Regions from separate parts of the Homo sapiens genome. Here all the other regions are linked to region 1. Evidence: promoter capture Hi-C in 16 types of primary human blood cells and fetal thymus (Javierre and others, 2016). All regions are on one chromosome and are shown on one strand. The core of a region is centred on a gene start or on the middle of the fragment in contact, and the rest is flanking DNA. Distances in the headings are between cores, read along the strand shown.

Region 1 (4,296 bases), core at 1,031-3,530:
TGGCAAAACAGGGCCCAACAAGGGGGCAGAATGGGGTCCAATAGGGGATAACTGGAGATAACATCTGAGAAACATGGCCAAGATTTAGAGCCCTGGAACTCTTCATTTAATTGTTAAATATCTGCTCTGCATAACTGCCTAGATTGGCTCTGTTCTCAGGTCCTTTGGCCTGAGGTTGTGGGGCAGCAGAATGAGCCAGAGAGCCCAGATGAGCTGAGCAGCACCTGAGGTTGGTAAGAGGTGACCAGCCCTGTGGAGGTGGAGATGGTGGTTATCTGTGAGTGTGACATCCAGGCTGTCTCTACCCCCAGATAAACAAGGGTGACACGTGTGCAGCAGGTGGGCCTACACGGAGGGGCCTCCTGGCCTGTGAGCATCAGAGACCTGGGAATGCCAGGAGGCCAGGCTATTCTGGACCTGAATCCTTTTCATTGACTAGCTCCCCCAGAAAACACATCAAATATTGTCAGGGAACAGATACATAGCATTTCAGCATCTTCAAGGGATTGAAGACGTGTGTTGCTGTTCTGGCCCATCCTTCCACTTTCTAGAAGTGTTGAAGATGGGCCTCTCTGAGCTTTGCCCACCTCATCCAAAGAACAGAGATGGCCCATCTGTCTTTCCTGTATCACAGGGCTACAGTGAGGCTGAAGTAAGTTAATGTGTGGGAATGCTTTATAAAGTACCATGCAACGTGCCCTGGTTCGTAAAACTCATTTATTCAACAAAGCAGTACAAGCCTCCCCTTCAATCAGGACCTGCCTGCAGGGGTGGGCTACTTCAGTGTCTTCAGCCAATGGGAGCTAGAGGGTTTAATACTTTAGTCCACTTCCCTTCATCTCTGGCCCCATCGACAACATGGGGAAGGGGAGTGAGGGCCTGGTAGAAGGGTACTAAGGCCCCTTATTTCGTTCGCTGGTAGAACTGGAAGACTGCTTTCTCCTGCTCATAGGTCTCGATGGAGCCGGGTCGTAGTCGTCGGATTTCAGCAATGGCATCTCCTGCAGCCAAGCCCCGCTCCTTCACCAGGTAACAGGCCAGCATGGTGCCAGTGCGGCCAAAGCCCAGAGCACAGTGCACTCCCACAGCCTACGAAGAGGGGGCTCGATGGGTGCCACTCAACTCCCCCACCCACAACTGTTTCCTGCCCCTCACTTGGTTCTCCCCACAGCTCCTTCTTCTGTGCCAGGTCCAGGGCTCTGCAGCAAAGTCAGGGAGGGCTGTCCCTGCACTAGGTGGCTAGGAGGCCTCTGCACTGGCTGGTTCAAGAGCTGTCCACCTCTACACAGCCCTCCACCTGTGGTGTTCAATACAGAAGACAGTAGCCACGGCTACTGTGGCTACTGTACTCGAAATGTGGCTAGTCCAAACTGAGATGTAGTGTGAAAAACGCAACAGGGTATGAAGAGGTAGTAGAAAAAAGAATGAAAATATCTCATTAAGATCACCAAAGTTAATTTTATCTGCTTCCCTGCTTTTTAAGAATGCCGTTGCTAGAAAAATTAACATTACATGGAGCCACTTAGGTTCCATTATATTTGGACAGCTTTACTCTAGAAAATGGTAAACAGCCTCCACCTGACTTCAACCCCCACCTCTCCCAGGTGTCTGTCCACACCCTTCTCCTTCACAACTCACAGTATTAGCTGGTTTTCACTGCCTCTCCTCAAGCCCAGTTCGCACTGCTTCGCCCTCTCTTTAGTTCCTTCCGTTTAGCGCTTCCCTCCCCCGCACTGGCTTCCCAGTCTCCCGGCCCTACTGTCTGCCTCCCCGAGCCCAGTTAAGTTATCCCAGGCCCGGTCTCCCCAGCTCCGCCCGTGTCCCCCGCTGACCTTCCAGGCCCCTCCCTCCCTGCGCTGACCCCGCCCGCTGACCTCTCCCCGTGCGTTGGCCTCGTCCACGATCTGCACGAAGCGGTCGATCTGGTCGGGGGCCGGCGGGCAGAAGTCGGGGATGCGCAGGCGGTGCAGGGTGAGGCCGGGGCAGCTGTCGCTGTGAGGGGGCCCGCGCTCCGTCAGGGACACCAGGTGCCGCACGCCCAGGTCCAACAGGAACTGGTAGTGGGCGGGGAGCCGCGGCAGCGCCAGTCCCGCCAGCCGGCCCGGAAGCACCCAGGAGAAGTTGGGGGGCTGCACGCCCATCGCTGGGAAAGGGCACAGGACAGCGGGTCATGGGGGCCGAGGCTGGCCAGCCCCGCTCCGCCCACGCGTCCCCTCGCCCGCTCCGAGCCAAGTAACTCACCACCTACCTGGCCTCGGCGCCTCCCGGGCCACGTGGTCTGCAGGGCGCCGCCCTCGGGTCGCTCTGCCCAGCCGCGGGGATTGGCCCAGAACCTGGGGCGGGGCTGGAACGCGGAACCCAGTCTCTGAGCGACCGAGGGAAGCGCCGCGATCCCGCCCCGTCCGAGCAGATCACGCGGTGATTGGCTGGATCATCATAATGGGCGGGGGGTTACTTCCACGGGGTTCAACCCACTCAGCTAAGAAGGAAGACCTGGAGCGAGTTAGGAATTGTTTGCTGCGGATGGAACAACCCGGGGTCGGGCTCTGCTGCACCCTGGCGGCATGTTGCAGTCATTGCGTCACTGGCGCCTGCCCCTGCCTCCTCGCGGGCCGGCCTAGTTCTACCTCCTTCACGCTGGATGCCCTGGGGTTTAAGAGATGACAAATCGGCTTTCTCCCAGGACGAGGAGTCTCCTCTCTAATGATTGACTGGTCGTTATCAGCGACTTTTTGAACTGTTCCAGTAAGAGGGAATTACTGCTGCAAGGAGGCTATTCTCATTTTTTCATTGCTGGAACTATTAAAAACTTACCCAGGGTAATAATTATAGTAATAATAATAACCAGCACCAACTTCTCCTGTCAATCCAGTTGCTCCTCAGGACTTATTGAGCATTTATTATGTGCTAGATAGTCTTCTAAGCACTTAGCACATACTGACTCATTTAATTGCCACAGTAATCTTATAAGATAGGTGATCTAGTGAATCCCATTTTATGGATGAAAAAACAGAGGCACTGGAGAGGTTAATAAACTTGACCAAAGGATGATGACTAATGCCTCCAAAATCTTTAATAATATCGCCATTTCCTAAAGTTAAATGGAACATTGTTTTCTCTTCACATAACCCCCTCATGTCCCCAAATATTATCTGGGTTAAACGCTTGTGGGTTTTCTTAATTTTTATTAGTATTTCATATTTCTTCATTTTTCAAGGTTTCCTAGTTCTCTGGGTCACTGTCCCCTGGGCAGGCTAGAGTTGATTAGTGTTGTTCTTACTAGGTGGGGGCCCCTAGATCTGAACACCGTTTCCACTGTCATCTGACCAGTCCATATCCTCATTTGAATAATGTGCTTCTAGCGATGCAGACTAACTGTAATTATGAAAATAGTTAACCCTTATTGAATTTGTTTATGTACCAGGCCCTGTGCCAAGCGCTTTCTGGAAGAACCACATGTGAAAGGTATTTTTGTATCTTTTTTTGTACATGAATCATTGGAAGCTTAAAGAAGTTGGTTAACTTGGCCAAGGACACAGTGATCCAAGCCCAGGGCACTTGGCCATGAGGATGTATTATATTTCCTTCCCTTTGCACCCACCTATGACACACGTCTGACCATTTAAGCCTTTGGCTTCAGCAAGATGGAAAGCAATTTGTCTTCTCCTAAAGATCAAAGCCTGCTCTGACCCTGTGGGAAATACACTTACCATTTACCCAGACAATTACTTTCCCCAGGTTCCAGGAGGTGCCAAATCTCCCCTTTTTCTCCTTCCAGACAATCACAGCCCTCATTAAGCCCTTCCTGTTTGCACTCTCATTTCCTACATAAATTCCTATCAAGGTTACCAGCCCTCCCCAGTTTATTCCTTTCTCTCTTTCCCAGCCATGGCCTCTCAGCCACCAGTCACCTCTTCCCCCAACCCCCTGACCTCCCACTTCTCTTCTCAATTCAACTGCTCTTCAGGATTTCTGGTTGCACTACCTCTGGAGACAAGACTCTAGCATTTGTTCTTGTAAGTTAATCTTTTCTTAGTCCCTTTGCCTTGTTCTCCTTTCTTTGCTTCCCCTACTCACCAGGGAAGTTTCCACTTCACTCCCTACCCTCCTATGTGCTCCTTCTTTGCCTCCTTGATATCCAGCTCGAAGCCCATATTCTCCAGAAAGAGAAAATTTTTTTGGGAGACCGAGATCTTCCTCTTCCCTGAGTCCCCTACCAATGATTCTCTCCCTCTTGTGGGTTTCTGCAGGGCTAGCAGTGCATCCATCAAACCATTAGGGCCTCCATGTGGAGAG
Region 2 (4,296 bases), core at 598-3,097, 240 kb before region 1:
CATAGTGAGACCCCCATCTGTACAAAAAAAAAAGTGCTACTTGGGAAGCTGAAGTGGGAGGACCACTTGAGCCCAGGAATTCGAGGAGGTTATAGTGAACTATGATTGTGCCACTGCACTCCAGCCTGGGTGACAGAGCAACACCTTGCCTCTAAAACAAACAGCTCCAACTATTTTATTTTTTTATTTTTCTGAGACAAGATGTTGCTTTGTCACCCAGGCTGGAGTGCAGTAGTATAAACATGGCTCACTGCAGCCGAACTCCCAGGCTCAAGTGATCCTTCCTCCTCAGCCTCCCAAGTAGCTGGGACCACAGGTATTTGCCACCATGCCTGGCTAATCTTTATTTTTTGTAGAGACGAGGTCTTGCTATGTTGCAAGAGGGAGATCACTTAAGTGATCTTCCCTCATTGGCTTCCCAAAGTGTTGGGATTCCAGGCGTGAGCCACTGCACCCCGCCTGACCTAACTATTTTAAACACTACTCATATTGCCATCATCTAAATTCAACAACAATTTGCCATATTTGCTTTATGTATATGTATAATTATATATTTATAAAATTTTTTGAACCATGTGAAGTTGCAAACATCATTGAACTTCACCACTAAATATATCAGCATGCATCTCCTAAAAATCAGGTATTTTCTTACAAAACCATAATTCTGCTATCTATTATGATTTAACATTCTGTCATTTTCAAATTTCTTCAGGTGTTTTTTGTTACATCTTAAAGAACAGACGTTCTTGGATCTCAAAGATTCCGAGGAAGGAAAGAACATGGTGGATAATCCATAATTAAGAAGTTTGAATCTTTTCCTAGTCTTAAAAACAAAGTGAGAACTAAAGGGGTTTACCTTCCATCAAAGTTGAACAAATTAATTCTTTTGTGTGTCATACTTTCTGTCTCTCTCCCTAAAAACATGGGGGTGGTAATCTCTTTGTTTTATCTGGTAGGTTTTCCAGATAAAAGATTATACAGGTTTGGAATCTTAATATCCAACCCCCAACTCCAAGCCCTGCCCCAACAACAACAGCTAATTATTTTACATCTTGATGATGGTAAATTTTTCATGATTAACCAATTTTGGGCACCTATTCCGCCATATATGGTTTTATTTAATTTTCACAGCAACACTTCAAAGTTGATATTCATATTCTAAATTTATAGATGAACGAAGAGGCTCAAAGATTAAACAACTTGCTAATAAGTGATTTTTACCCATGCTTTTTCCATTATATTATGTTTTGGATTTTTCCAGAGTACCCAAACCCAGCAGATGCATACTGCTCCAAAATAAATGGAACTCAATACTGGCTCTGTCAAGTGTCTCTTGCCAATCAATTGTCCTTCTAATCTTTTGAGGGGCAGTTCTCTCAGTTGTACCAAGTCACTGTCATCCCCAAACTTTTCAATGATTCCAGGCCTTTAACAACTCCCCTCCACCTCCAAACCCTCTCTCACCAAATTGTGTAATTTCTTTGTTTACTGCTGGCTTCATCATGCACTTTTCCTTCATAGCCTATTTTAAGAAGTTGATTTGCTGAACTGCTTTTTAGCCAAGCTATTTGTAAATCAAGCTACACAAAGTATGTGGCCATAATTTCCAAAAGGCAAATGATCATTGTTCAATTGCTGTTGCTCTGCAGTGTGCATTCATGCAGTTAAAAATTGTACTGCATTGATAGTACGGCATCAGAGAATAGATCACTTAGGTTCAAATCCCAGTGCATGATCCTGAGCAAGATTATCATATCTAGATACATTAGTTTTTATCTGTGAAATGGGAATGATAGCACAATCTTCATAGAATTGTTGGTAAGGATTAAGTGAGTTGATATGCTCAAAGTGTGCATGCTGGCATAGAACAAGTCACTGTTTACAAGCCTTTAAAGAAGGAGCTGTTCTGGCACTGTAAACTTGAACCTTTTTTCCCCAAATCTAATGGATATAGGCAAGGAAATTATATTTATATAAAATAAATGTTTGACTACCTTTGATCATAAACTTTATTCTCATCTTGACCTGTTCCTTTGAAAAGATAATAAATACTGATATGTGAAAAATGTATGGACAGATTATTCAGATGTCTGGTTGAGGCTTTACAGTTTTGTATATTTCTGTCAGACATTAAGCTGACTCTAAGCAGTGGAGGTTTGGTTTATGCCCCTAAATTACACAGCACTTCTTTTCTCCATTGTATCGAGGGGTCATTCAGGGGTTGCTGTTCTGGAGATGGAAGCACATGTCTCCTGCCTGGGTCAGAAGCGTCACAATAGCACAAGCATTTATTCAGCACTGGCCTAGGAGAACCATTCATTTAGTCAAAACAAGCATTTATATTCATTATCCTGAACAAAAACCAGACTAAATGAGAACATTTATAGCTGCTCAGGCACTCTGCTAATTGCTATGTCTGCTAGACAAAGTGAAATGACACTTACAGTGACTATTTAAAAATAATTTGGAGCATGAATATTTGAAGCTCAGTTCTTTTTACAAAGGAAATGTATAACCTTTGCTCTTCATTTTTTTTGGCAGTTATTTATAGATCCAGGCCCTGTGTCAAGTTCTGTAATAGATGAATAGACAGTTTATGCTCTTGGAGAGTTAACAGTAAAAACAGAAACAGAAACATACCCCACTGATAAAGTGTTATATAACACCCCATTAAGTTCCACAATGATGTGATTTGTGAAATGGAGGGGCAGTAGGGCAAGGTAGAGGATATTTTTATTTGTATGTTACAGATAAGAAAACTGAACTCAGAAACAAGTGACTTTCCAAGGCCAAATAGCTGGTTAATGGCAGGATTGGGGTGGGACCCCAGATCTTCTGATTCTAATCTTTTTTTTTTGCAAGTCCTTTTTAGTGCTATACAATGACAGGTGATTACAGTGGAAAACCTCACTTATTTAGCAAATGTCATTCACTTAGCAAACTACTTAGCAAAATGCCATGAGTATCTTCTGTGTGCCAGTCATTGTTCTAGGCATCGTAGATGCAGTGAGTGAGAGAGGGAGGCAAAGACCCTATCTTTATGGATCTTACATTTTCATGGGGAGGCAAAGAATAAGCAAGTACAGGATTGTGATGATGATATATCATAAAGAAAAATAAGACAAGCTAAGGAAGTAGAGAGTGATGGCAGTGCGGAGAGTGGAGTAGGTGCTTCTTTAGATGAACTGGTTAGGAAGATACTGTGATGAGAGGGCACTTGAACAAAGACCTGGGAAGTGAATGCATGACCTTCATGCAACCATGGTGCAGGGAGGTAAGGGAAGAGCATTTCACTCAGCATCCCTCCCTGCTGAGTGAAAGCAGTGCGGAGATCCTGAGTTAGGAATGAGCTTGGCAGGTTTAAAGAACAGTAAGGCAAGTATTACTAGTTGGAGTGAGCAAGGAGCAACCAGAATCTAATTCACATTATCCAGCAGAACGACATGAATGCTAGTTGAAAAATACAGTTAACATTAGCATTTTTACTGGCTTATAATGCAATAACTTTGAGCCCAACCTATTTTTTTCCTCTGGCTTCTGAGCACATGTTAATATGTAAGGAAGATGAAACATATATGTAAACAACTTATATTTTAGTAATGATACAAAATACTTTCACAAATTTTGTGATGTGGGAATTTTTTAAAATTCCATTTTCACAGATGAGACCCCTAAAGCTCAGAGTATATGCACTTTGCCCAAGGTCAGAGTTAGTATGTGAGGCAGGAATAGACCCTAGATCTTCTGGAGCTAAATGTACTACTCATTTCTCTGTACTACCCTTATCATTTAGCTATGGTGAACAGAAGATGAACCACTGGATTCTAGAAAGCAGGGAGTTCAGGAACAACGTTGTCCAACCAATGATTCATTCATCTAGTAAATACTTAGGAGCCTACTTTGTGCCAAGCACTCAGCTAGCCTGGGGGTATAAGGATGGTTAAGACTAGAGTCCTGCCTTTAAGGAACTCACCAGTGCCATAGGAGACTGGTGGAAAGAGGATTATAACTCAGTTATAAATCAGTAGCTAGAGTAAAATACACCTAAAGTAGTTCACTAATACATTAATTGGACAAAACTAGTGCAGAACCTGATATATACTAGGTACTGAGATGTTTGTTATCTTACCTGTTTTTCTTTAACATTGGTAAGTACTGGGGGCTTTCTTTGAAACTTTCCTGCTTAAAATCAGTCAGTGATTGACAGGCTCCTTTGCACAGTGTGAATGGCAGGGGCTGTGAAAAAGAAGAGAAAACAGTTTCTCAGTGCCTGTCATTTCTAAATGCCATCAGTAT
Region 3 (4,296 bases), core at 960-3,459, 210 kb before region 1:
ACCACTGTGCCTGGTGTATTCCTACAGTATTGTAAAATAACATAGTCCATAGAAATCATGCCCTGTACTGCACTGAAAGAACACTTAGAATTTTCTTTTGCCTAATTCCAAGTCTCAGGTCATTTTAGTGACACAATTTTGCTGTTTTTCGCTCATTATGAATTATTCTTTCTGAGATGGATGGAGATAGAAGATCTGGCTTGAGTCCTTTTGTTGCCATGTTTTACATAGAGGGCCCAAAGAAGCATTCATATTCTTTTGCAGCTACCTCCTGAAAGAGGATTTTCATTTCTCTTGTCAATGGACTATGGGCAGGTTCAATATGGTCTTGGCTAAACTAGATGTCTTAAAGTGTAAAAGAAGCTTCTCCAAAATTTATCACAAATGTCTTATTAATTTAAAAATGCAAACACAAAATCTCAAATAAGGAATTACATTATATGCTTGTTTAACTTAAGCAAACCCAACTATGTATTGAGCAAGGGAACACTGTACTATTATTATTATTATTATTATTATTTTTTGAGATGGAGTCTCTATTGCCCAGGCTGGAGTGCAGTGGCACAATGTTGGCTCACTGCAACCTCTGCCTCCCAGGTTCAAGTGACTTTCCTGCCTCAGCCTCCCAAGTAGCTGGGATTACAGGCATGCACCACCACATCTGGCTAATTTTTGTATTTTTAGTAGAGATGGGGTTTCACCACGTTGGCCAGGCTGGTCTCAAACTCCTGACCTCAAGTGGGAGGTCCACCTTGGCCTCCCAAAGTGCTGGGATTACAGGCATGTGCCAGTGTGCCCGGTGAGCAAGAGAACACTTTAAATAGTAAGAGAATCTCCACCTGCTATTCCATTCAATGAATATACACCACAGAATGAGAGTGAGAAGGAGAGGCAAATCGGCTTTGCCTAAATCTCAGTTATCTTGTGTGATATCTTAGTATGCTGAGTGTGATTCTAATGTTTAAAAACACTTGTAGTTTTGAACCACATGGTTCCTAAATGAAAGCCACCTTCTTTGATTGGTACTGTAAGTCCCAATCTGGAAGAAAAAACCTGGCTGTGTTGGGCTGTTGGTGTCAGCTCTTCTGGGATTTTCATGGGTACTTGGAACAGTGTTTAGTTTGCCTCATATGAAGTCTTTAGATGTTGTATTAGTTTCTATTGCTGCATAGCAGATCACCAACACATCAAGCAGCTCCCAACAATGCACACATTTATCAACTTGGCTTCTGTGGGTCAGGAGTCTAGGTGTGGTCTACCTGAGTCCTCTGCTCAGAGTCTCATGAGACTGCAGTTGAGGCTTCAGCTGGACTGAAACTTCAGCCAAAGTTTTCATCTGGAGGCTCTGCTGGGGGAAAATCTGCTTCCTACCTCACTCAAGTTGTTGGCCAAATTTATTTTATTGTGGTGGTATGGCTGAGAGCCTGGGGTTTTGCTTGCTGTCAGCTGGAGGCTTCCTCTGGTCTTGGGGGCCATTCTCAGTTCTTTTCCATGGAGGCTTCCTCAGAATGGCTGCTACTTCAGCAAGGAGAATCTCTTCAATCTCAGGGAGGGCCAGGGTTCCTCTTTCAAGGTCTTTCACCTGATTAAGTCAGGCTCGTTCCAGATCACCTCCCTTTTTGTTAACTCAAAGTCAACTGCTTTGGGACCTTAACTCCATCTGCAAAGTCCTTTCACCTTTGCCACATTCTATGGGTAGACCCACGTCAACACGTCTCACCTCCACTCAAAAGGAAGAGATTATACAGGCCATGGACACCAGAGACAGGAGTCATGAGAGTCACCCTAAGGGCTATCTGCCATGGACCTCAACCCCAGAAAGTACTCAGGGCCCAGTCAGAAAAACAGCAACCACACTAGGTATTTAACAGGAAATGTTTAATATAGGAAATTAAATAGTTATTGGTGGACTAAAAAAAAGCAAAACAAGACAATAGTGATATAACAACGAAAAAAGGGCAGGAAACAATCTCTCCCTCCCACCCCACTGGCTAGGGCAATAAAGGGTTAATGAAGTCAGGGTTATCAGGACCTCCATACTTGGAGAAAAGTCCTTAGCCACTGAGTTAAGTCCCCCTCTGACTGATTCTGTTTATCACGGAGGGGCCCTGCAGAGCTCAGATCTCTGTAGAGTGGGTGCTGCCTCACTCACACGGTCCTTCTGAGGAGGTGTCATGAGGCTTGTTTTGAGGGCGCTAAAAGAAGCTGGTGACTGGGACAACCTGCTGCTAGGATGAAGGACCATTCCTGGGCCTATTGCCAGGAGTAGCCAGCTGATAGGAAGGACAGTTCTTCCTTCTCTTGCCTTCCAGTCTCTCTCCAACATCCCTGTCAGCAGAACCTGACAGCGAGCAAGCTGGCAATGGAGAAATATGCTTACCAGAGTCCTGGATCCAGCATCACAAAACAAGTGCAAAAGGGTAGATTTAGATCCTAGAGACAATAGCTTAATAACCAGCATTTAGTAACCACCTTCCTTAGACAAGGCTGCTGAAACTTAGGTCCAGCGGAAAACCCTGGACTTCACTTTCTGGTCTAACACTGGTCATGCTTGGATTTTAGGGAATCAATGAATAAGACCTTTTTTCTTTCTGGCCTGGTTCTGAATCAAAGTTCTTGATAAAGAGAATTAGAGGGAACTTAACTCGGTGGTTAAAGACTTTTCTCCAAGTTCATAGGTCCTGATAACCGTGATCTCATCTCCTTATTATCAGTAGTCAAGAAGATGGTAATAAAACTATCAGCTTTATTACTAACAGAATCTGATGTCAGGCATGCACCCACATGTGCTTGCCTTGCTAACAGCCCCTGATGTAAACTTATTGCCAAAGTGCAGGCCTCCCCTGTGGGTTCTGGGTGGAAGCATCCAGGCCCCTGAGATCAGATAAGTATGCACCTCCCAGGTGGCCAGCAGATTCTAAGGAGAGACAAAGGCACATCTGAATGAAGCCCACCCTTGGGGAGGAGTGCCTAGAACTGAGAGAGTTTGGTGGGGGTAGGGGGTTTCCCTGGTGGAGGTTCTTCCATTAGGGAGTGTGAGGAGTGGGGAATGAGTTTTCTCAAATTGGTATACTTGAAAACATATTTGATTGCAACCTGGCTCTGGTTAGAAATGTTATAAGAACAGATTTTTAAAAAATTAGAGGTACTTTTAAAAAAGTGATAAAATACACATAACAGAATTTACCATTTACAATGTACATTTTTAAGTGTACATTTCAGTGGCATTGAGTACATTCACATAGTTGTGCAACCATCACCACTGTCCATCTCCAGAACTCTTTTTATCTTGCCCTTTAAACTCTGTACCCATCAAAAAATTGGTCCCCAGTGACCCCTTGCCCAGCTCCTGGCAACCTTAACCTACTTTCTGTCTTTGTGAAATTGACTAGTCAAGGTACGTCATATAAATGGAGTGATACAATATTTATCCTTTTGTGTCTGGCTTTTTTGCTTAGCATTAGGTCCTCAAGGTCCATCCGTGTTGAAGCATTTATCAGAATTTCCTTCCCTTTTAAGGCTGAATAATATTCAATTGTATGTATATACCACATCCTGTTTATCCATCTGTCGAAGGACACTGGGTTGTGTCTACCTTTTGGCTATTTTGAATAATGCTGCTATGAACATGGGTGTACAAATATCTGTCTGTGTCCCTGATTTCAATTCTCTCGGGTATATACTCAATAATGAAATTGCTGGATCTTATGGTAATTCTATTTTTAATTAGAAACACAGTTTTTAGTGGACATTGTGAGGAACATCAAGAGGTAGAGGCCGAGAACCTGTGAAATGCACATCACGCAGCCTAGAGGCCTCTTAGGTAGAAATTGCACACTTGTCCCTGAGGGCAGCAGCTGTTCTTCTGCCTCTGCTGCATCTTCACGCCTACAAAGTGGAGAATGGGCTGAACCCGCATCTCCTTTACTTTCAGGCACTGGGTGGAGAGCTCCACTCTCAAGAATAATGGCAGTGGCCAAAGTCCCTTTCAGTCCCCCTAGACCCGGGCTCGTGGCTGAGATACCTGAGTAAGATTCTGGAGCCCTTGAAGCTTGCCTAGCTTTGTTATTGTTGCCATCCTTTGTCATCAGTATCACTGCAGTGATTGGCAGTGGAGCCTTTCATAAGGAAGCAGACCATGTGTGTGGTCTTTAGGGACTATCAGGAGAAGGGAGTTGGGAGGTTTCTTCTGGTTTAGGGCCACTCTTGGACAGAAAGTGAATGGGCAGGGCCAGAGAAGGAAAGAAAGCAAGCTCAGTTCCTGATGGCTCCTGAGGCTCAACAGCTATAAATCCT
Region 4 (4,296 bases), core at 804-3,303, 200 kb after region 1:
GAGTCTGATTCTGTTGTCTAGTTTCCTTCCCCAGAATATGCTTCTCAGGCCTTGGAAGAGAACAGCCTGCACTTCAAGAGTTGTCAAAGAGGAAACTGAGAATTATTTTTATTGTAGAAAGGAAAAGTTCTGATGTCAGGATGTAGGAAAATGAATCCTGGGTCTTCAGAACTGGGTGCAATCCTCACAGTGAGCCAATCCTCACTGTTGCTGGATCCTCCTGGGTGCCATCCTGCCAGTGAAAGTTCAGGTCAAGGTGGCGGCTCCTGTCTGGATGGCTATGGAAGAGTTGAGGCTGGGGGAAGAAAAGATACAGTATGCTGAAGAGAAACAGGTCCACCTGTGTGCCACAAACAGAGTTGTCTTGGCTACATTAATTGGCATGCAACAAAGTTTACCCTCAGAGAGCATAGTGGAAGAAGGCATCAGCAGTAGCAGAAAGAGGATCTGACTCGGAGCTTCAAAAAAGCAGAAGTATGAGATATAACTGGAGATCACCTGAGGGATTAAAGAATAACCTAAAGATGGTTTCTGAGACCTCAGGTGTTTGTAGAAGACATTAAGTCACAGTAACCAATGGGAAAGACTGGATAGGAAGAGACTGAGTAGAACAAGATTTGTGTTCAGTAAAGAATTATTTGCTGTGTGTTCTGTCAGTTGTAAGGGAATTTGAGAGCATTTAGATGGAAAGAGGCAATGGAGGCATGCATCAAGAGTAACTGATTATCACTCTGATATGTGGTTGGATAAAACCAAAGATACACAACTTAGACTGATGGCAGGGTCTTATTGTAAGTGCAAAAAAGGACAAAGATGAGAATTAAAAATATATATATAGAATATGGAACCATATTTCTTACTGCAAATCATGTGGAAAAAAAATATGGTGCTGCCAGTACAGATAGGACAATTGAGAGGATGTTCACTTGGAGGAGGTGGAGGGTAGGTGGTAAACTTGGTTCCTCAAATGCTAAATTTGAAATGATAGTATGACTTATGTGTAAGAAAGGTCTTGGAGAATTTGTAATATGTGACGGCCACTTGGAATTAGAAATACAGGTTTCAGAGAAATCAACATATAAATGATAATGAAACAAAAATGAATTTTGTCTTTCAGTGGAAAAGAGAAGAGAGGAAAGGTCAGGGAGCCAACCACTGACTTGAGGAAACATTCACATTCATGGTGTTAGAGGCAAGATAAGAATGGCAGGTGGGGAGGGAGGTGGGAGACAAAAAATTATGTTTGGCAGAGAGGATAGCGTGTGGTGTCATGGAAACCAAGTCAGTGTAAGTGTCCAGGAAGCAGTATCCAGTGGTATTAAATGCATCAGAGAGATCTAAGTTGAATGCATGCTGGATTTAGCAATAAAAACTTCAGTCGTAACCTTTGAAAGAGTAATTTTCATAAAGTGAGCATGTCAGAAGCCAAGTTTCAGGGAATGATGGAGGGAGAAAGAGGAAGGGAGTTTGTTTCCTAAGGTTCAGTAATTCTGACAAAGAACAAAAGGAGAGAAACAAGATTCTCCACAGGAGACTTGGGATTCAATGCATATTTCCCACACAGTTTATAGATTGTCTCTTCTTGACAGAGTGGCTATCATGTCTTTGTTGCCTACCTAATAACATTTCAGCCAACAACAGAGAAAAATCAGTGTCCACCTGAGATTATGACTGACCTTTCTACCAAAGTAGCTCTTTCAGACTCTAAATGCCAGGCTCAGGCTGCTGTGAACTCCTAACTCCCCTTCACAATTCTGGCAGCTTCACAAATTTGTCAGTCACTTTCCAGGTCATGCTGATACACAAGAGTCTTTTCTTGATCTCATTTCTCTGTTCCTAATTTCAGGGTTCATTTATAAAAGAAAATCTCTGCTAAGTTTTTTTTTATCTTCTACTTTTAGGTTTAGTGAGACACCTCGACCATATTACCTCACTGAAATCTCACTTTTAAGTTCAGAATTCACCTGAAACTGCTCTCTGGAATGTCACCATATCTGTATCTTAGTCTTTATCTTTCTTGACATCCCTTCACTCTTACACTTCTTTTTGAACAACCCATCTTTATAGTTTTATAAAATATAGATTTCATTGCTGAGATTAATGTTTATTCATTTTTTAAATATAAATTTTTAAATAAAATTTACCATTCAGACTCCCACTGGCCACAACCATCTTCATGCTGTTCACAATCCCTTCATAATACCTGAGTCTTCTGGGAGGAGATGTGCAAAGAAGAAAAATGTAACAGCAGGGACTCAGTGTAACTCTGTATCTTGAGTATGTTTAAAAGTTCCCTTCTCTGTGTCTAGGAATATATTTTCCAGTCCACAGTGATAGAGAATACATGCACTGAAGATGCAGAAGCAGATTCCTTGCTCGTGCAGCTACAAGAGGTCTTGGCTAGAGCTGTCTTGCGCTACTCTTGTCATCTTGTCAACTATGCCATGTTTCTGCTCATGACAGAAACATGGCAGCACAAGAGTTTTCTTATGCTGATCTATTTTATTGTTATCCCTAAAACTTCAAAATACAAAGAAAGAACCTCACAGAAGCTGACAAAGTTCACCTTGCTGGTTGTCTCCAGCTTCTGTGAATGATGTCATCCACATCTTAACTTCAGCAGGGAATGCCATCATCTTGAGTCTCACCCACATTGGTCATGTATGTTTTCCTGAGAGTGTTGGTTAGTTCAGTGACTTTATACACTCATCCTTATTCTACAATACTTTCTAGTCTCATAGCTCAGAACCAGGAGATTTTCTTGGTCTTTGTCATTTTTTTTTTAATTTCTGGGTTCTTTCTTTCTTTTTTAAAAAAATTTATTTAAGATTTAAAACAATTTTTATGAGTATGTAGTAGGTGTATATATTTATGGGCATGCACTGTGAAATAAGCATATCATAGAGAATGGGGTATTCATCCCCTCAAGCATTTATCTTTTGAATTACAAATAATGATCTTTGCCATCTTGACCACCATTGACTGCTGTGTATTTGTCTGGGAATTCCTGGAGTGCACAGTCTTTGTGAATAAGAGGGCATGTGCCCAGCTGGCGTGTGGTGCCTTTTGCATTGGCCTGATCATGACAGTGGTCTAAATAACCACAGTGTCACAGAGGTACAAAAGGAGCACATATGCTATTTAGACTGCTTCTTGTTTGACACCCTTCTTGTCATGAAACTCTCCTGCATTGACAATACTATCTATGAAATAAACAGTATTTTATTCACCACACATGTGTGCAGGTGTCCATGGGTTTGGTTTGCATTTCCTATATTGACATCCCTGTTACCTCCATCGTGCTTAGAATTTCCTAATCTGAGGTCTTTGCCACCTGTGTCCCCCAACCCCCACCTCATCATGGTCATTGTCTATATGTCTGTGCTTGTACTGCTTACCTCAAGCACAAGCCAATGAATTCAATAGAAAACAGGTCTTCTATAAGAGACCTACATTATCATCATTCATTCTGCCTCTGGACACTGTTGTTTACACTCTGAGGTACATGGAGGCCAAGGATACCATGTACAGAGCTGTGGACAGAAATATTTCTTAACAGATTGACTCATTTCATCAGGAGACCTTTAGTCCAGGGCAATGTTTTTCCTGCTCATAAACATTTTTCATCTCATAAGAAGACCAAATAGAAAGTTCTGTTGTGAATTGGTTCAAACACTTAGACTGCTTTTCTACTTCTAGAAAGAAGGCAGAATCTAGGATTTCTGCTCAGGGTGCACATTACTGCAGAGGCGAGTGGCACTCCAGGAGCATTTTGATGACTTATTTTTATGTGTGAGCGAGTTGATTGAAAATCCTCCTAGCTCCCACTTTACCTGGCCATTTGGTGCTTGACTTTTGTCTTTGAGTGGAGCAGAACTACTGATGATAATGGCAGCAGTGACTTCAGTTAAAGAATCCCAGGGACCACCTGAGACTTTCTGCAGCTCCGTGATTTCAGCTTTATGACCCTTAATTGACATTTCAAAAAGGCTTTCCTTACCATGTGCTGATTGAAAAATAAATAGTTTAGCAAAGAGAGGTCCTTCTTTCCATGAATTTGTCCCCACTGGCCACTTAAATAGTGTGTGTTTAGGTGAAGTACCCTTTACTTCTGTGGGAGGAAACAAAGACTTTTTAAAACCACATTATTGCTGCAGCCCCAGAAGCTGAGAAGAAAGAGAACAGATGGGTGGCTCTTCTCAAAGAATGGTGCCTTCATCTGGATTTCCTCTTCTTAAACATTTATCTTCTTGTTCCTTGAAGGCTTTTAGGAATTATTAATTCCACAGTGGCTGC
Region 5 (4,296 bases), core at 699-3,198, 180 kb after region 1:
AACTTGAGGATTTGGTCTCCAGCAACAAAGGAAGCTAAGCTTTTGTTCCATTATAATTCAAAATGTAAAATTGTGGGATGATTTTCTAGCCTCATAATAAATTTGTTTGTCATGTGCCAAAAGTATAATTAGAAGATGTCCTGATTTTTAATTGTATATGGCACATCACTCTCTGTTTAGAAACTTGTTTCTCTTTAAATACATTTCAAAGGTTACATCCTCATATGAGTAAGAATGATTTTCTTGGTAACTCTACGCCCTTTTGTGAAAATCTTGACTGTTTCTGCTTCTGTGTTGCTAAGCGATTAATCAATGCAAATAACTAAGTTAACATTGGGGCTGAGAGAGGTCTTAAAGCAACTGAGAATTGGCTCATAGAAAGGCCAGGGAAAGAGGAAGAACAGGCAGACCCAAGTGACTCTGCCACAGTGGACGAGCTTATGACTCTGTGTTTGTATTTAGGGGAGGGCCCCCTGCAAAGGACACAGAAAAAGGATAGCAGGTGCTTTGGTTTGAATGTTTGTGTCCCCTCGAAAATTCATGTTGAAACTTAAACCCCAACGTGATATCATTAAGAAGTGGGACATTTAGGAGGTGATTAAGTCATGAAGGCAGAGCCCTTATGTATTAGTCTGTTCTTGCATTGCTATAAAGAAACACTGGAGACTGAGTAATTTATAAAGAAAAGATGTTTAATTAGCTCATGGTTCTGCACACTGTACAGGAAGCATAACACGGGCATCTATTTCTGGGTAGGCCTCAGGAAGCTTACAGTCATGGTGGGAGTTCACGGGGGAGCAGGCGTCTCACATGGTGGGAGCAGGAGCAAGACAGTGAGGCGGGAGGTGCCATACGCTTTTAAAGGACCAGATCTCGTGAGAACTCACTATCTCAAGGACAGTACCAAGAGGATGGTACTAAACCATTCATGAGAAAACCATCCCCATAATCCAGTCACCACCCACCAGGCCCCACCTCCAACACTGGGGATTACATTTCAATATGAGATTTGGGTGGGACTTCCAAACCATATAACTTTATAAATGGGTTAGTGACCTTATAAAAGGGATGGGAGTAACTAGATAGGTCCATTTTTGCCCTTCCATCTCTTCCCATATGAGAAGCAGTGTTCATCCCCTCTGGAGAATGCAGCAACAAGGTGCCATCTTGGAAGTAGAGACTATGCCCTCACCAAACACTGAACCTGTTAGTGCCTTGGTCATTAACCTCCCAGACCCCAGGACTGTAAGCTCGAAATTTCTGTTCTTTATAAATTACCCACTCTTTGGTCTTTTGTTAAAGCAGCTTGAACAAACAAAGACAGCAGATGTGTCTAGTTCAGCAAGACACGCTGAGAAGTCCAAGCATGGTGCTTGTACATAGTAGGTACTCAACCTCTAAGTGAGGATTTATTGAACACCTACTCTCCAGGTGCTGTTCCATGCAGGGGTATCATAATGAGGAAAGCAGTTCCTGATCCCAATATGCCTGTGATCCAGTGATAGAAACAAGCAAGAAAAGCACAATGAAAAAAATGTTAAACTCATGTAATTTCCCAAAAATAACTTTAGGAACACTTAAGAGAGAACAACTAACTGCTGGGTGGGAGTGAGGTAAATGATACTGCAGAAAACAATGTGAAGTAGGGTTTGTCACTGGATACCAGCCTGTGCAAAACAAATGGGTAAGGAGATTAAAAAATGCTTTTGATGACAAGCGAGGCAGAATTAAAAACATTATATTCATAAAAAGGTTCTGATGGGTGCTGAGTGAGGAAGTGAACTCAGCACCCATCTGACTCTGGGACCTCTATTCTATCCACCATGTAAGACAACATCTTATTGTCAAGAAGAAATTAGAAGCACACATGTTTATTTAAAAAAAACTGGACATATGATTGAACCATTGTGGGTAACAGAGTTAGAGACAAAGATATTTCACCTTCAAGATTTATGACTCATATTTTCTGCCAGCTCTTTGTGGGCCCCGCTGTGACATTTAACTTTTGATTGCACGAGTGGCGTGTGGTATGTCTGCTGTTGCAGCATTTAGATGTAGAGACAATACTGGAGAAACCTTTGTCTTTGATTCATGAACTAATGAAGGAGAGTGGCTGTGTGCAGAAGTAGAAAGGAGAGTAATGGGCAGTGGGAGTTGGCCACTGCCACTGGAGCAGGATAGAACAGGTTTGATCACCACCCAACTTCCATCATTGTACTTTCCTGCTCAGAACAGCCCTCTCTGTCTCATCTCTTCCCTTCTACACACAAAAAGACAGGTATGAGGATGTACAAGTAGTTGCTAGCCAGAGAGAATTGAGAAGGGCAGGTTATAATTAAGAGTTGGCAGTACAGGTGGCCTTGATGGCAGTGGGAGGGGTTCTTTCATACTGTCAGGAGAGACACTCTCATTCTGGAGGGAATCTGCCTCACTCTTGTTGGGCATAGAGGTTTAGATCTGTAGTGGGATGACCCTGAGAGTGCTGTCAAGAAAGACCTCATAGCATGTCCAAGACTCTTGGACCCAACCTTTGAGCCCCCAACAGCTTCTGTAGGAAGCCTTGTTTCTATGATGTAGAAATTGCAAAGACACAAGACAGGAATTAGAAAGAACTGGTCAGACCTTGAAAGAACAATGGTCTCCCCAATCTAGAATTCAGAAATCTGTAAAGATATTCTTTACCTGAGATGAGCTCCTTAGGATGTTATCGATTCTTTCTCAGTGGAGGGAAAGGAAAAAAATGACTGTCTTGAAAAAAAGAAAAATGGCATTAGGGAATGAGCAGAGAAGTATTCTTGACAAAAAATATTTTAGTAGAAGGAAGCACTCAACAAAAGTCTTAAACCCTCCCTACCATCACCCATCACCCAAGATAACCACATAGAAGGTATGTATAGGCATGAAACCAAAAAAGTTCCCAGAAAGCCCTGGGAAAAAGGATATTTTTCTCAAAGGAGTCTACTAAGGAAAAATATTTTTTTTTCTTGTTAGCCTTTTTTGGTGAATTGAGTGATTCTACAATTATACTTCTGAACTACTCCTGACTGCTGGGACTGTTTGTTTTGTTCTACTTTTGTTTCTTTATGCTACCAGGAGGTGCCATGGTATGTGCAAATGAGGAAAGCTTTTATGGTTCTTATTCTAACAGGGCACAGATCTTCTTGACCAACTCAATTTTTCTTCATAATGATTAGAGAGAAGTTGATCCCATGGAGAGAACCAGCAGCCAGAAAGAATTCAATTAGGGAATTTAGATTAGAAAGGTGAGAGTTAAGTATGATCTGTGGCCATGGCCAGCATCTGACGACTACACTGGATAAAAGCAAAGGCTTTAGCATAAATTGAATAATAAAGACTAAATTTTCAAGGACTAAGCCAGTGTTTTCCAACTTTCCTATTTTTTTTTAAATTTAATACGCTCATCTCACTTTTCCCTGACAATTCTGATACTATTTTCTTTCAAGGGAATCCATCATTATTGACTATCCTTACCTTGCTGCGATGATTTTGTAGTTTTATTTTCTGTAGATTGCATTACAAAAATGAGACACATTGCTTTTTATTTTTTAAACACAATATAATCATATTTAATATACTTTTAAAAGTCCCTTTCTTCATCCTAGAAATTTGGATGCTCTTTCCTAAAAATCATGCCCATTCTCCTTGACCTCTCACATCCCTAGTTGAAAATGCCTGGACAAAACTTTGAAATATATGGAAACAGAGACTAAGATTTTGTAGTAAATATACCAAAGCAAGACATGCACATCCCATTGCAGCATAGACTGCATGGGACAGAGTCGTAAGGTTGTTTAATGTAAGTAAGGACACACATTTCTATGACTAAATGTATATTTATATAGAGGAATAATGCATTAAGAAATGTTTCTGCCCATGGCCCTGCATAGGGCATCCTTGACCTCCTTGTTCTTTAGGCTGTAAACAACAGGGTTCAGCAGGGGAGTGATGATGGTTTAGGTCACTGAGAGAAGGAGGTCTTGTTCTATAGAGTTTTCTGACTTGGGCATGAGGTAGGCAATGGAAGCACAGCCATAATGGACAATGACCACAGTGAGGTGGAAGGCACAGGTGGCAAAGGTCTTCTTCCAACCCTCAGCTGAGGCAATCTTGAGGACAGTGGAGATGATGAGGACATAGGAGATGAAGACCAGACCCATGGGGACCAGGATGACAAATAACCTGACAACAAAATTGATTATCTCATTGATAGTGGTATTAATACAGGAGAGTTTCATGACAGGGAGGATGTCACAGAAGAAATGACCAACCACCGTG
Region 6 (4,296 bases), core at 834-3,333, 170 kb before region 1:
ATCACTGTGAACTTTGAGAGTTCTGGGGAAGGTGCCTGCAGTATGTCCCTGGTGTGCTCTGTGGAGAAGGCAGGCATGGATATGACCTACAGCTGGCTCTCCCGGGGGGATAGCACTTATACATTCCATGAAGGCCCTGTCCTCAGCACATCCTGGAGGCCGGGGGACAGTGCCCTCTCCTACACCTGCAGAGCCAACAACCCCATCAGCAACGTCAGTTCTTGCCCCATCCCTGATGGGCCCTTCTATGCAGGTACCAGAACCCCTGAGACACCCCCTGAGCTCATGAAAGATAGTGCCTAGAGGCACCATCTCCCTCCCCCAGCTCTTCCCAAGAGAGCCCAGGGAATTCAGAAGCTAACCCCCTCCCATGGAGGCTTGACACCTGGATTGGAGAGGAGACCCTCCGTTTTTCTAGTGCCCCCAACTTCCAAAGGTCTTTTCTTTTCTCTTGCTTGGCTTCAGAATGATTCCTAGATCTCAGTTCCTGAGCTTCTGTGCATAGAATATATTTCCAGAGACACTTGCAAGGGGACTTCAACTGATTGTGAACTTGAGACCCCTTCATGAAATTTGGGTAGGAGTCTGCCCAAATCTTAACCCCAACCCTACCACTGATGGGCCCTTTCCTCCTTTCTTCCACCCCAGATCCTAACTATGCTTCTGAGAAGCCTTCAACAGCCTTCTGCCTCCTGGCCAAGGGATTGCTCATCTTCTTGCTCTTGGTAATTCTGGCCATGGGACTCTGGGTCATCCGAGTCCAGAAAAGACACAAAATGCCAAGGATGAAGAAACTCATGAGAAACAGAATGAAATTGAGGAAGGAGGCAAAGCCTGGCTCCAGCCCTGCCTGACTGCTCCTTGGGAACCCCAGTCCTGAGCTTGGTTTCTTCCCAGCACCCAGAGAATCCTTCCTCAGCTCTCTTCTTTCCAGGGGAAGGAGGTGCTCAGGGGTGGGTATCCAGAGAGCCATACTTCTGAGGGAAGACTGGCTGGCAATAAAGTCAAATTAAGTGACCACAACTCTGCAGGAGCTGTGTTGGGTCCTTCCGTCCTCACTGGGTGGCTCTGGCAAAACCCACTCTGCTGTCTTTGCCCCAACTCCCAGTGCCTTCCCCCAAGTCCACGTGCTTTTTCAGGCCCTCCTTTGGGGAGAAGAGTGGGTCTAAAGGGCCCCCTCACAGGGAAGTTTTGGTATGCTGTCACTCACCACCTATCCCGTTTTCCACCAACATGCTTGCTATTTGTTCATCAGATAAGAAATGTGAGAGATTTCTTTGAACCTAACTGAACCTGTGACTTGAGAATTTCAGGCATTTTGAATCCTGCATAAAAGTGGCCTTATTCCTGTTAAGATTCTTCTGCTCCCTTACCCCACTCTCATCCTGGCAGATACATTTGCTTAACAACTCCATCCATCCCAGACTAGTCTAGAAGCTCTCCTAAATAGGGAGGTAGGAAGGACCTCATTCAGACCTACCCTGGGTCTGAGTTGAGCTCGCAACCTCTCCGTCATCTCCCTGATGCCAGTTGCTCTGGGCCTCTGGCGTCTACCCCATAGGGATGCTGGATTATTAGCCGAGATCGTGGAGCCTTGACTTCTGCTTGTGATTAGTATTACTGTCCTGCCTGTGTCCCTGCCTATAGATTTCCATGTCTTAGGCCTTCTCTTTGGAGTCTTGTCCTGGGTTAATGCCCACCCCCAACTCCCTGGCAAAGGCCCTTAAGTTTATGTTCTTGCTCTTTCCCTAGACCAATGATCAGCCTCCCAGGCCTAATGTGTCCCTGCCCAAGTCTCTAGTATTCCCTCCAAATCAGATCTTGTGGATGTTACTTATGCAGTTGCCATGGGGCAGGGGGTTAGGGGGAAGCGAGGACTGGGGAGAGAATTAGAAAACACCCAATTGACAGGACAGGTGTACGCAGTGGGTGAATTGCAGGAAGTGGTGAAGGCTGTGATGTATGGCTGGGAGCCTAGGTGACATTTTGGAGCTCTGGGCTTTGATCTGCTACTCGCCTCTGGCCTGTGACCCTGTGTTCAGCAAACTTCCATTGAGCCACAGCCTCTTTCTCCAAGAAGTGCACACTGGAAGAGAGAAGCAGGCAGAGAGGCAGCTTGGAGCTCCTACAGAGACACAGTTAGGCAAGCGACTTGGTGCCACAGAGACAGGGTGGGTTGGGGGCCCTGGGGAGTTTCAGAAGAGGTGTCTGAAGGGTGGGGAGAGGGCCGCATGGCAGGAGGCATGCCTAACATTGCTGTGGGTCTCTTCTTCCTCTTTGTTTTTGAGGGGGAGGATGCTGATCTCCAAAGTATCTTCTAAAAAAGGAACAAGAAGTATGTGCAGGGGTCAGTGGAATGCATTCAACTGGGCAACCAATGAGACCAAGGATACCTTCCTTTTAGGAAAGTAGAACACATGGGCTGGCACAGGACCACCCAGGAGGAGAGTCTTGAGAGCGGCGTGGGGCAGGGCTGGAAGCCAAGAGTAGGGGTCTCCCTAGGTATTTGTGCAGGAGATGGAGCCCCTTGGGGCTTGGGAAGGAGGTAGTAAGGTTGGGAAACCAGCCCCAAGAGCTCCTAGTGCTGGTAAACTGGTCCCCTCTACTTTCTGAGGGCCTGAACCCTTGTCCCTCTGGAAGGCAGTCCCTTCTTGAGGCTGGTTCTCTGGGCTTCCCTTAGGCCCTGAGCAGTCTTGCTTCCAAAAAAGGCCAGCAGCCCCCAATCCCTTTGATTCCTTTTATATCTTTCCTAGGAGGCACCACTGCAGGGATGGGGACTGACTGGAAAGGCCACCTTGAGTCCATCTTGCACATAAAGAGGCAGCTCATTTCTCATGTTATTGCAGGATTGAATTCATAGAAAGTAAACAAAAGGATGAATAAATAAAGGAATGAATGTATGATAGGCCCAGGGATTTCCCTGGAAGTTGGCAAAGTTCCTTCTTCTTACAGCCGATCTCTGAGCAGAGAAGGGTTGAGGCCTCAAAAGAGGCCGAGCTTCTGGAAGAGGAAGGATGAGATCTTAAAGAAAGTTGAATATAAACTCAGAGAGGCACAAGCCGCTACCTCTGCAATATGCCAGGAACTTGGCAAGCACTGGGGAGGCAGAAGAGACACCTCTGCCTTCAAGGAATGTTTTGTGGAGTGTGTAAAGATACAATAACAAGGTAGGAAAAGGGCTGGGGTGAAGGTGAGGGCGTGGTGGGAAAAGTCACGGAATGTGTCCTGAAGGGAACAGATCAACAGAAATTTGACCTGTGGCCAGCAGTGAGTCTGGAAAGGAGAAAAGGGCATTCTATCGAGACAGAAGCTAAGTGCTAAGACACTGGTATGTGAAAGAGCACAGTAGTTCTAAGGCCTGCAAAGTCATGCACACTGCGATAAAGGGATAAGTGAGAAACCAGGCTGGAAAAGTAAGCAGGGCCTTTCTGAAGCAGGAATTCAAAGACAAACAGGACAATATCCACACCCTTGTGGGGCTAAGTGTTTCATTGGGATAGAAGATAGGCACACAAAAAGTTAAATGACAATATATGAGAAACCGCACTTCTTTACGGATCTGGTAATAAGACTGCTGCTTACAGGCATGTGGTCAACAGAGTCCCTGGATGACAATCTTTTCTTTTCTTTTTTAACTCAGATATAACTTAATATATGCCTGATTAACAACATCCCTATTATCGATTATTAAAGCCACCCTTTCTATTCTAGAATATGGGATAGTTATGTGGTGCTTAATTGGTACAAGCAATGTTAACACATCAAATGTGGTCACTACTAAAAGCCCATGTGTTCCACCTTTCAGGGTTCATTTGATATCAAGTAATTCTCTGCTTATCTATAGACAATGAGAAACTTTGCTGATTAGGAACACCTGTGCTTAACGATGCCAAGCAGACATCTCTGAGGTCACACCATCTTCTTTGTGCAGGGCTATGGAGCAGCTCAGGTCCTTTCTTCCCAAGGCCTGCTGAAATATTAGGTATACACCAGGAAGACAGAACCAATAAGATAGATAGATACAGATATAGAAATATGAGATGGGATTTATTAGGGGAATTGGCTTACATGATGGTGGAGGCCAAGTCCTACAACATGCACAAAGAAGGCCCTGGGATGGCAAAAGTGTGGCTCAGTCCAACTCCAAAAGCCTCACAACCAGGGAGGCCAATGGTATAACTCACAGTCCCAAGTCTGGAGAGCCTGGAGTTTTGATGTTCAAAGGCAAGAGGAGGAGAATACCCCAGCTCTGAGAGACAGAGAGAGAGACAGAGAGAGAAAAGAAGAAGAAGGAGA
Region 7 (4,296 bases), core at 368-2,867, 150 kb before region 1:
ACCTCACTGTGCTCTGTAAGCCTGACCCCAGCTTCTCCCTCAGCCTGCTCCCTTCCCCTGGGCCAGGCCAAGCCCCTCTCCCCCAACTTGCCACTACTTTCCCCCAGACCCAGCCCAGGTGACAGCTATGCCTCCTGAGACACCCCTGCCCATAGGCATGCCGGGGGTGATCCGCTGCCCGGTTCGTGCCAACCCCCCACTGCTCTTTGTCAGCTGGACCAAGGATGGAAAGGCCCTGCAGCTGGACAAGGTACAGGCTTGGGGCAGGGGAAGGAGGGTCTTAGCTTGGCGTTATTCTGCTCAGGACAGCAGGGTGGAGTTAGCTCGGTTTAATTCAGTTCAGTGACTGGGGACACACATCTTTTGTGAATTTAATTTGTGTTATAAGACATGTTGCATAGGAAACTACTTAAAACCCCTGAGGAAAAATTTCCATGGTTTAAAGTGGTGGTTTTGTGTCTTCTTTGGGGAAAGAAGAGAGATGATCTCTGGGGAAAATGATGGCAAAGAGTCAAGAAGGAGAACTGAAGTTTCTTTCGTGTGATGACTGGGAAATTGTGTGTCCCGGGGGAACACACACTTCTTACCAGGTGCTGTGTGGGGTAGTGGGTTGAGGGCAGGGGCAAGGAGGCATCCATCCTTAAAGTGGGCACCATCTGGGCAGAGGACAGCAACACTGTCTGGAAGGCCAGGGATGGAGCTCGTGCCTTCCTCTTAGGGTGGTTGAGGATAGACCAGCAACAGATTCTGGGACTTTGGTGATGGGCCTCAAAGAGGACACAGTCATTCCCTTGCAGAAACCAGGGTCAAGAGGCAGGAAGTAGTATAGTACGTTTATGGAATCATGGATCGTCCAATTGGGTGGGAGCCGGAGTGCCTGCAGGGACATGAATGGTGCAGAGAAAGCTGGAAAGACAGGTTAGCATCAAAAGGAAGAACTGGATGCCAAGTTACTATTGCCTCATTCCAAGGCAATTGGGATCTTTTGTCTGCAGAGACTATAAATTTTTGAGGCCTAGTATTGCATCTTTTCATCATAGTGTACCTGGGGCTTCTACAACAATAGTACTCAGTATATCTTTGTTGAATATTTAAGAAAAAAGTCTACAGGCAGTTGGAGCCACTGGAATTTGTTGAGCATTGGTGTGATAGGATCAGAGCTGTGATCAGGGGTTGAGCTTGCCCAGTGGAATGTAGCGGGAGATACTGGACATAGGAAGAGGGGTTCTGAAGCTGCTGAAATGGCCCAGGTGAGAGTTATGGAGTCTGATTTACAGAGGACATGAAGATGAATGGGCTCATGCTCTGACAAAAGGGACTTCCCAGGATGACTGGCTTAGTGAGTATTTCACCAGGGGGAGTGAGGGAACGTGAGGAGGCAGACTTCAGCAAGAAGGATGGCGGGCCCTTTAATAGAGAAATAGGAGCTGGTTTTGGGTGGAAGACTCTGAACTTAGTTGTGGAGTGCTGGGAAGAGAGCCAGGTGAAGTCCCAGCAGGCAGGAAGCCCCACGCGGCCCAACTACAGGGGTGGCCATTCACAGTGTATTTTCTGTGAGTGGCACCCCCTGGAGTTGTGCAGTCACAGCCTCACACTATTGGGAGGGGTCCCTCTGCAGGAAGGAAAGGAAGCACTGGAAATCAGAGAGGGGTCAGGCCTAGACATGGAGCTGCTGGAGTCTTCTGCACAGCTGTGGGTTTCTCATCCTGCCCCCTCTCTTGTACTGCCATCCCGGGCTTGTCTCTGCTGAGCTCCTCTCTCTAGCTGTCATCTTCTCTTCCTTCCAGTTCCCTGGCTGGTCCCAGGGCACAGAAGGCTCACTGATCATCGCCCTGGGGAACGAGGATGCCCTGGGAGAATACTCCTGCACCCCCTACAACAGTCTTGGTACCGCCGGGCCCTCTCCTGTGACCCGCGTGCTGCTCAAGGTTAGGCCGGGGGTGGGCGGGGGCCTGTGGTGACAGTGGGTCAGATGGCTGGAGATGGTGCTAAGGCCAGGCTGATGGGGGTGGGGTGGGGCAGACACATGGGGAGGGGTTTCCAAGTTTGTTTCCCATGGTGGCCACGGCAGCAGCTGCCTGATGCCATCCCAGAGGTTTCTGCAGAGGTGGTGCTCGGGAGGTGGGACATCAGTCACACACATCCAGAAGTAAGATATCCTGTTTGCCCCAACTCTCACTAACCTTGACCGTGCTGCCTCCCTCTCTGGGGCTCTGGGAGGAAGAATGTTCTGCAGAGGTTTGTACATCTCTGAGAGTCCTGCCTAAGCCTGCCAGCCCTTACTACACCACCATTTTCCTCCAGCCCCTACCCACTGGGGAACAGAAACAGAGCCAGAGAGGAATTGAGAGATGGAGAGAGAATGAGGTAGAGACAGGCTTGGTGAGTGTTTAGCTAGGGGGAGTGAGGGAGAGTGAGGTGAGACATGGCATGACAGGGAGCACAGAGAGAGGGAGTAGCCAGCCTTAGATGTAAGAGAGGGCCCCTCCCAATGCCAGATCTGGCTTGCAGGCTCCCCCAGCTTTTATAGAGCGGCCCAAGGAAGAATATTTCCAAGAAGTAGGGCGGGAGCTGCTCATCCCCTGCTCCGCCCAAGGGGACCCTCCTCCTGTTGTCTCTTGGACCAAGGTAAGGCTCCTGAGCCCGCTCTGCCTGTACCCACGCCCACTACACCCCTGCCTCTCGTGCCCCAGCCATTTTGTGGGAGGGAGGGTGTGGGAAGGAGAAGGCTGTCAGAGGCAGGGTGGGGAGGAACTGGAGCTGCCTGGAGAGATGAGGGGCGCCTTTGGTGAGGGGTGGCTGCGTGTGTCCTCAGGGCTCACCAGTGGTTCTGTAGGTGGGCCGGGGGCTGCAAGGCCAGGCCCAGGTGGACAGCAACAGCAGCCTCATCCTGCGACCATTGACCAAGGAGGCCCACGGGCACTGGGAATGCAGTGCCAGCAATGCTGTGGCCCGAGTGGCCACCTCCACGAACGTCTACGTGCTGGGTTAGTGGCTGGAGAGAGGGCCAGGGGCTGGGAGAAACTACTTGGGAATCGTTTTTGGAGGCCCAGAAAGAGGATCATGGGTGTGGGACCCCTGGGATGATGATGGGTGAAGGTCAGTGGCCCTGGGGCCCCTGCTACTCTGTACACTCCCTCAGGCCCTGACCACCATCCCTCCATTCCCCCCTGCCTAGGCACTAGCCCTCATGTTGTCACCAATGTGTCCGTGGTGGCTTTGCCCAAGGGTGCCAATGTCTCCTGGGAGCCTGGCTTTGATGGTGGTTATCTGCAGAGATTCAGTGTCTGGTACACCCCACTGTGAGTGACCTGCTCCTGCCATTTCTCTGTGCCAATCTTGCCTCCTTTCCTCTCCTCCTTGAACCTATCTGGCCTTCTGCCCTTTCTTCTGTCCCTCTATCCCTCACCAGTCCTGGCTCTGCTTCCCTGTTTCCAGATTCTGAGGCATTCAGGGCCAAGGTCCTGAGACCTTGGATGGTTGAGCAGAGGGGAGGTGGTTAGATCTCTGGACCCCAGATCTTCTGGTCTTCCTAGCTCACGAGGTGCCCCCCATGTCCTCATGTCTCCCAGGGCCAAGCGTCCTGACCGAATGCACCATGACTGGGTGTCCTTGGCAGTGCCTGTGGGGGCTGCTCACCTCCTAGTGCCAGGGCTGCAGCCCCACACCCAGTACCAGTTCAGCGTGCTAGCTCAGAACAAGCTGGGGAGTGGTCCCTTCAGCGAAATCGTCTTGTCTGCTCCGGAAGGTGAGAAGCTTCTCGTCCCAGAACAGCAGAGACAAGGATGGGGAAGGGCTGCTGGGAGAGCTGGGATATGGGAGGCCCTGGGTGGGAAGGGGCAGAGGTGCTGGCCAGCTTGGGGTCCAGAGGGGTGTGTGGAAGATGATTTGAGCTTGTCTTCAGGGGTTCTGGGAGAAGAGTTGGGCACTGGGAGTTGTGGAAGGCCAGGGGAGGGGCGCTGGGAATCCTTGCTCTGACCTGCCTTTCTGTCCCACGCAGGGCTTCCTACCACGCCAGCTGCACCCGGGCTTCCCCCAACAGAGATACCGCCTCCCCTGTCCCCTCCGCGGGGTCTGGTGGCAGTGAGGACACCCCGGGGGGTACTCCTGCATTGGGATCCCCCAGAGCTGGTCCCTAAGAGACTGGATGGCTACGTCTTGGAAGGCCGGCAAGGCTCCCAGGGCTGGGAGGTGCTGGACCCGGCTGTGGCAGGCACAGAAACAGAGCTGCTGGTGCCAGGCCTCATCAAGGTATGTGCGAAAGGCGATACAGAGAGAGGCCTCCTAGGGGCTCTC

What was found. The method cuts DNA at HindIII sites, captures the fragments that hold promoters and counts their contacts. A CHiCAGO score of 5 or more calls a contact.
Region 2: a contact is called between a fragment that was not itself captured here and the fragment with the promoter of DUSP23 in region 1, in 11 of 17 cell types (non-activated CD4 T cells, activated CD4 T cells, naive CD4 T cells and 8 more). The highest score is 10.1, in non-activated CD4 T cells.
Region 3: a contact is called between a fragment that was not itself captured here and the fragment with the promoter of DUSP23 in region 1, in 1 of 17 cell types (naive B cells). The highest score is 5.4, in naive B cells.
Region 4: a contact is called between a fragment that was not itself captured here and the fragment with the promoter of DUSP23 in region 1, in 1 of 17 cell types (M2 macrophages). The highest score is 5.4, in M2 macrophages.
Region 5: a contact is called between a fragment that was not itself captured here and the fragment with the promoter of DUSP23 in region 1, in 1 of 17 cell types (endothelial precursors). The highest score is 5.1, in endothelial precursors.
Region 6: a contact is called between a fragment that was not itself captured here and the fragment with the promoter of DUSP23 in region 1, in 9 of 17 cell types (naive CD4 T cells, total CD8 T cells, non-activated CD4 T cells and 6 more). The highest score is 12.9, in naive CD4 T cells.
Region 7: a contact is called between a fragment that was not itself captured here and the fragment with the promoter of DUSP23 in region 1, in 10 of 17 cell types (naive CD4 T cells, non-activated CD4 T cells, total CD8 T cells and 7 more). The highest score is 10.6, in naive CD4 T cells.

What each region holds. Positions count from the first base shown.
Region 1 is chr1:159,778,946-159,783,241 of GRCh38, reverse strand. DUSP23 (dual specificity phosphatase 23) reads right to left here and starts at 2,280. Exons shown (of 2, transcript NM_001319658.2): 1 at 1,875-2,280; 2 at 699-1,089. The coding sequence starts at 2,141. The coding sequence ends at 904. LOC101928264 (a long non-coding RNA gene) reads left to right here and starts at 3,861. Exons shown (of 3, transcript XR_922193.3): 1 at 3,861-4,016. RefSeq lists an enhancer at 1,388-1,964 and a silencer at 1,956-2,345. The HindIII fragment of the contact is 4,062 bases long and covers 1-3,506 here.
Region 2 is chr1:160,022,723-160,027,018 of GRCh38, reverse strand. PIGM (phosphatidylinositol glycan anchor biosynthesis class M) reads left to right here. Exons shown (of 1, transcript NM_145167.3): 1 at 1-2,066. Among named protein-coding and RNA genes, the nearest start is that of PIGM, 7.1 kb to the left of the region's middle. The HindIII fragment of the contact is 9,782 bases long and covers 1-4,296 here.
Region 3 is chr1:159,985,317-159,989,612 of GRCh38, reverse strand. No RefSeq gene overlaps it. Among named protein-coding and RNA genes, the nearest start is that of LINC01133, 26 kb to the right of the region's middle. The HindIII fragment of the contact is 3,688 bases long and covers 366-4,053 here.
Region 4 is chr1:159,580,880-159,585,175 of GRCh38, reverse strand. It overlaps the pseudogene OR10AE1P. Among named protein-coding and RNA genes, the nearest start is that of APCS, 4.8 kb to the left of the region's middle. The HindIII fragment of the contact is 6,308 bases long and covers 1-4,296 here.
Region 5 is chr1:159,598,807-159,603,102 of GRCh38, reverse strand. It overlaps the pseudogene OR10J6P. Among named protein-coding and RNA genes, the nearest start is that of APCS, 13 kb to the right of the region's middle. RefSeq lists an enhancer at 4,243-4,296. The HindIII fragment of the contact is 2,357 bases long and covers 770-3,126 here.
Region 6 is chr1:159,948,219-159,952,514 of GRCh38, reverse strand. SLAMF9 (SLAM family member 9) reads left to right here. Exons shown (of 4, transcript NM_033438.4): 3 at 1-253; 4 at 649-1,023. The coding sequence ends at 854. The region is part of intron 2 of LOC124904438 (a long non-coding RNA gene); the gene reads right to left. Among named protein-coding and RNA genes, the nearest start is that of SLAMF9, 3.9 kb to the left of the region's middle. The HindIII fragment of the contact is 4,904 bases long and covers 1-4,296 here.
Region 7 is chr1:159,930,144-159,934,439 of GRCh38, reverse strand. It overlaps IGSF9 (immunoglobulin superfamily member 9), which reads left to right. Exons shown (of 21, transcript NM_001135050.2): 8 at 1-15; 9 at 108-250; 10 at 1,788-1,928; 11 at 2,512-2,628; 12 at 2,837-2,987; 13 at 3,179-3,302; 14 at 3,573-3,748; 15 at 4,001-4,251. Among named protein-coding and RNA genes, the nearest start is that of TAGLN2, 6.8 kb to the right of the region's middle. The HindIII fragment of the contact is 4,282 bases long and covers 1-3,758 here.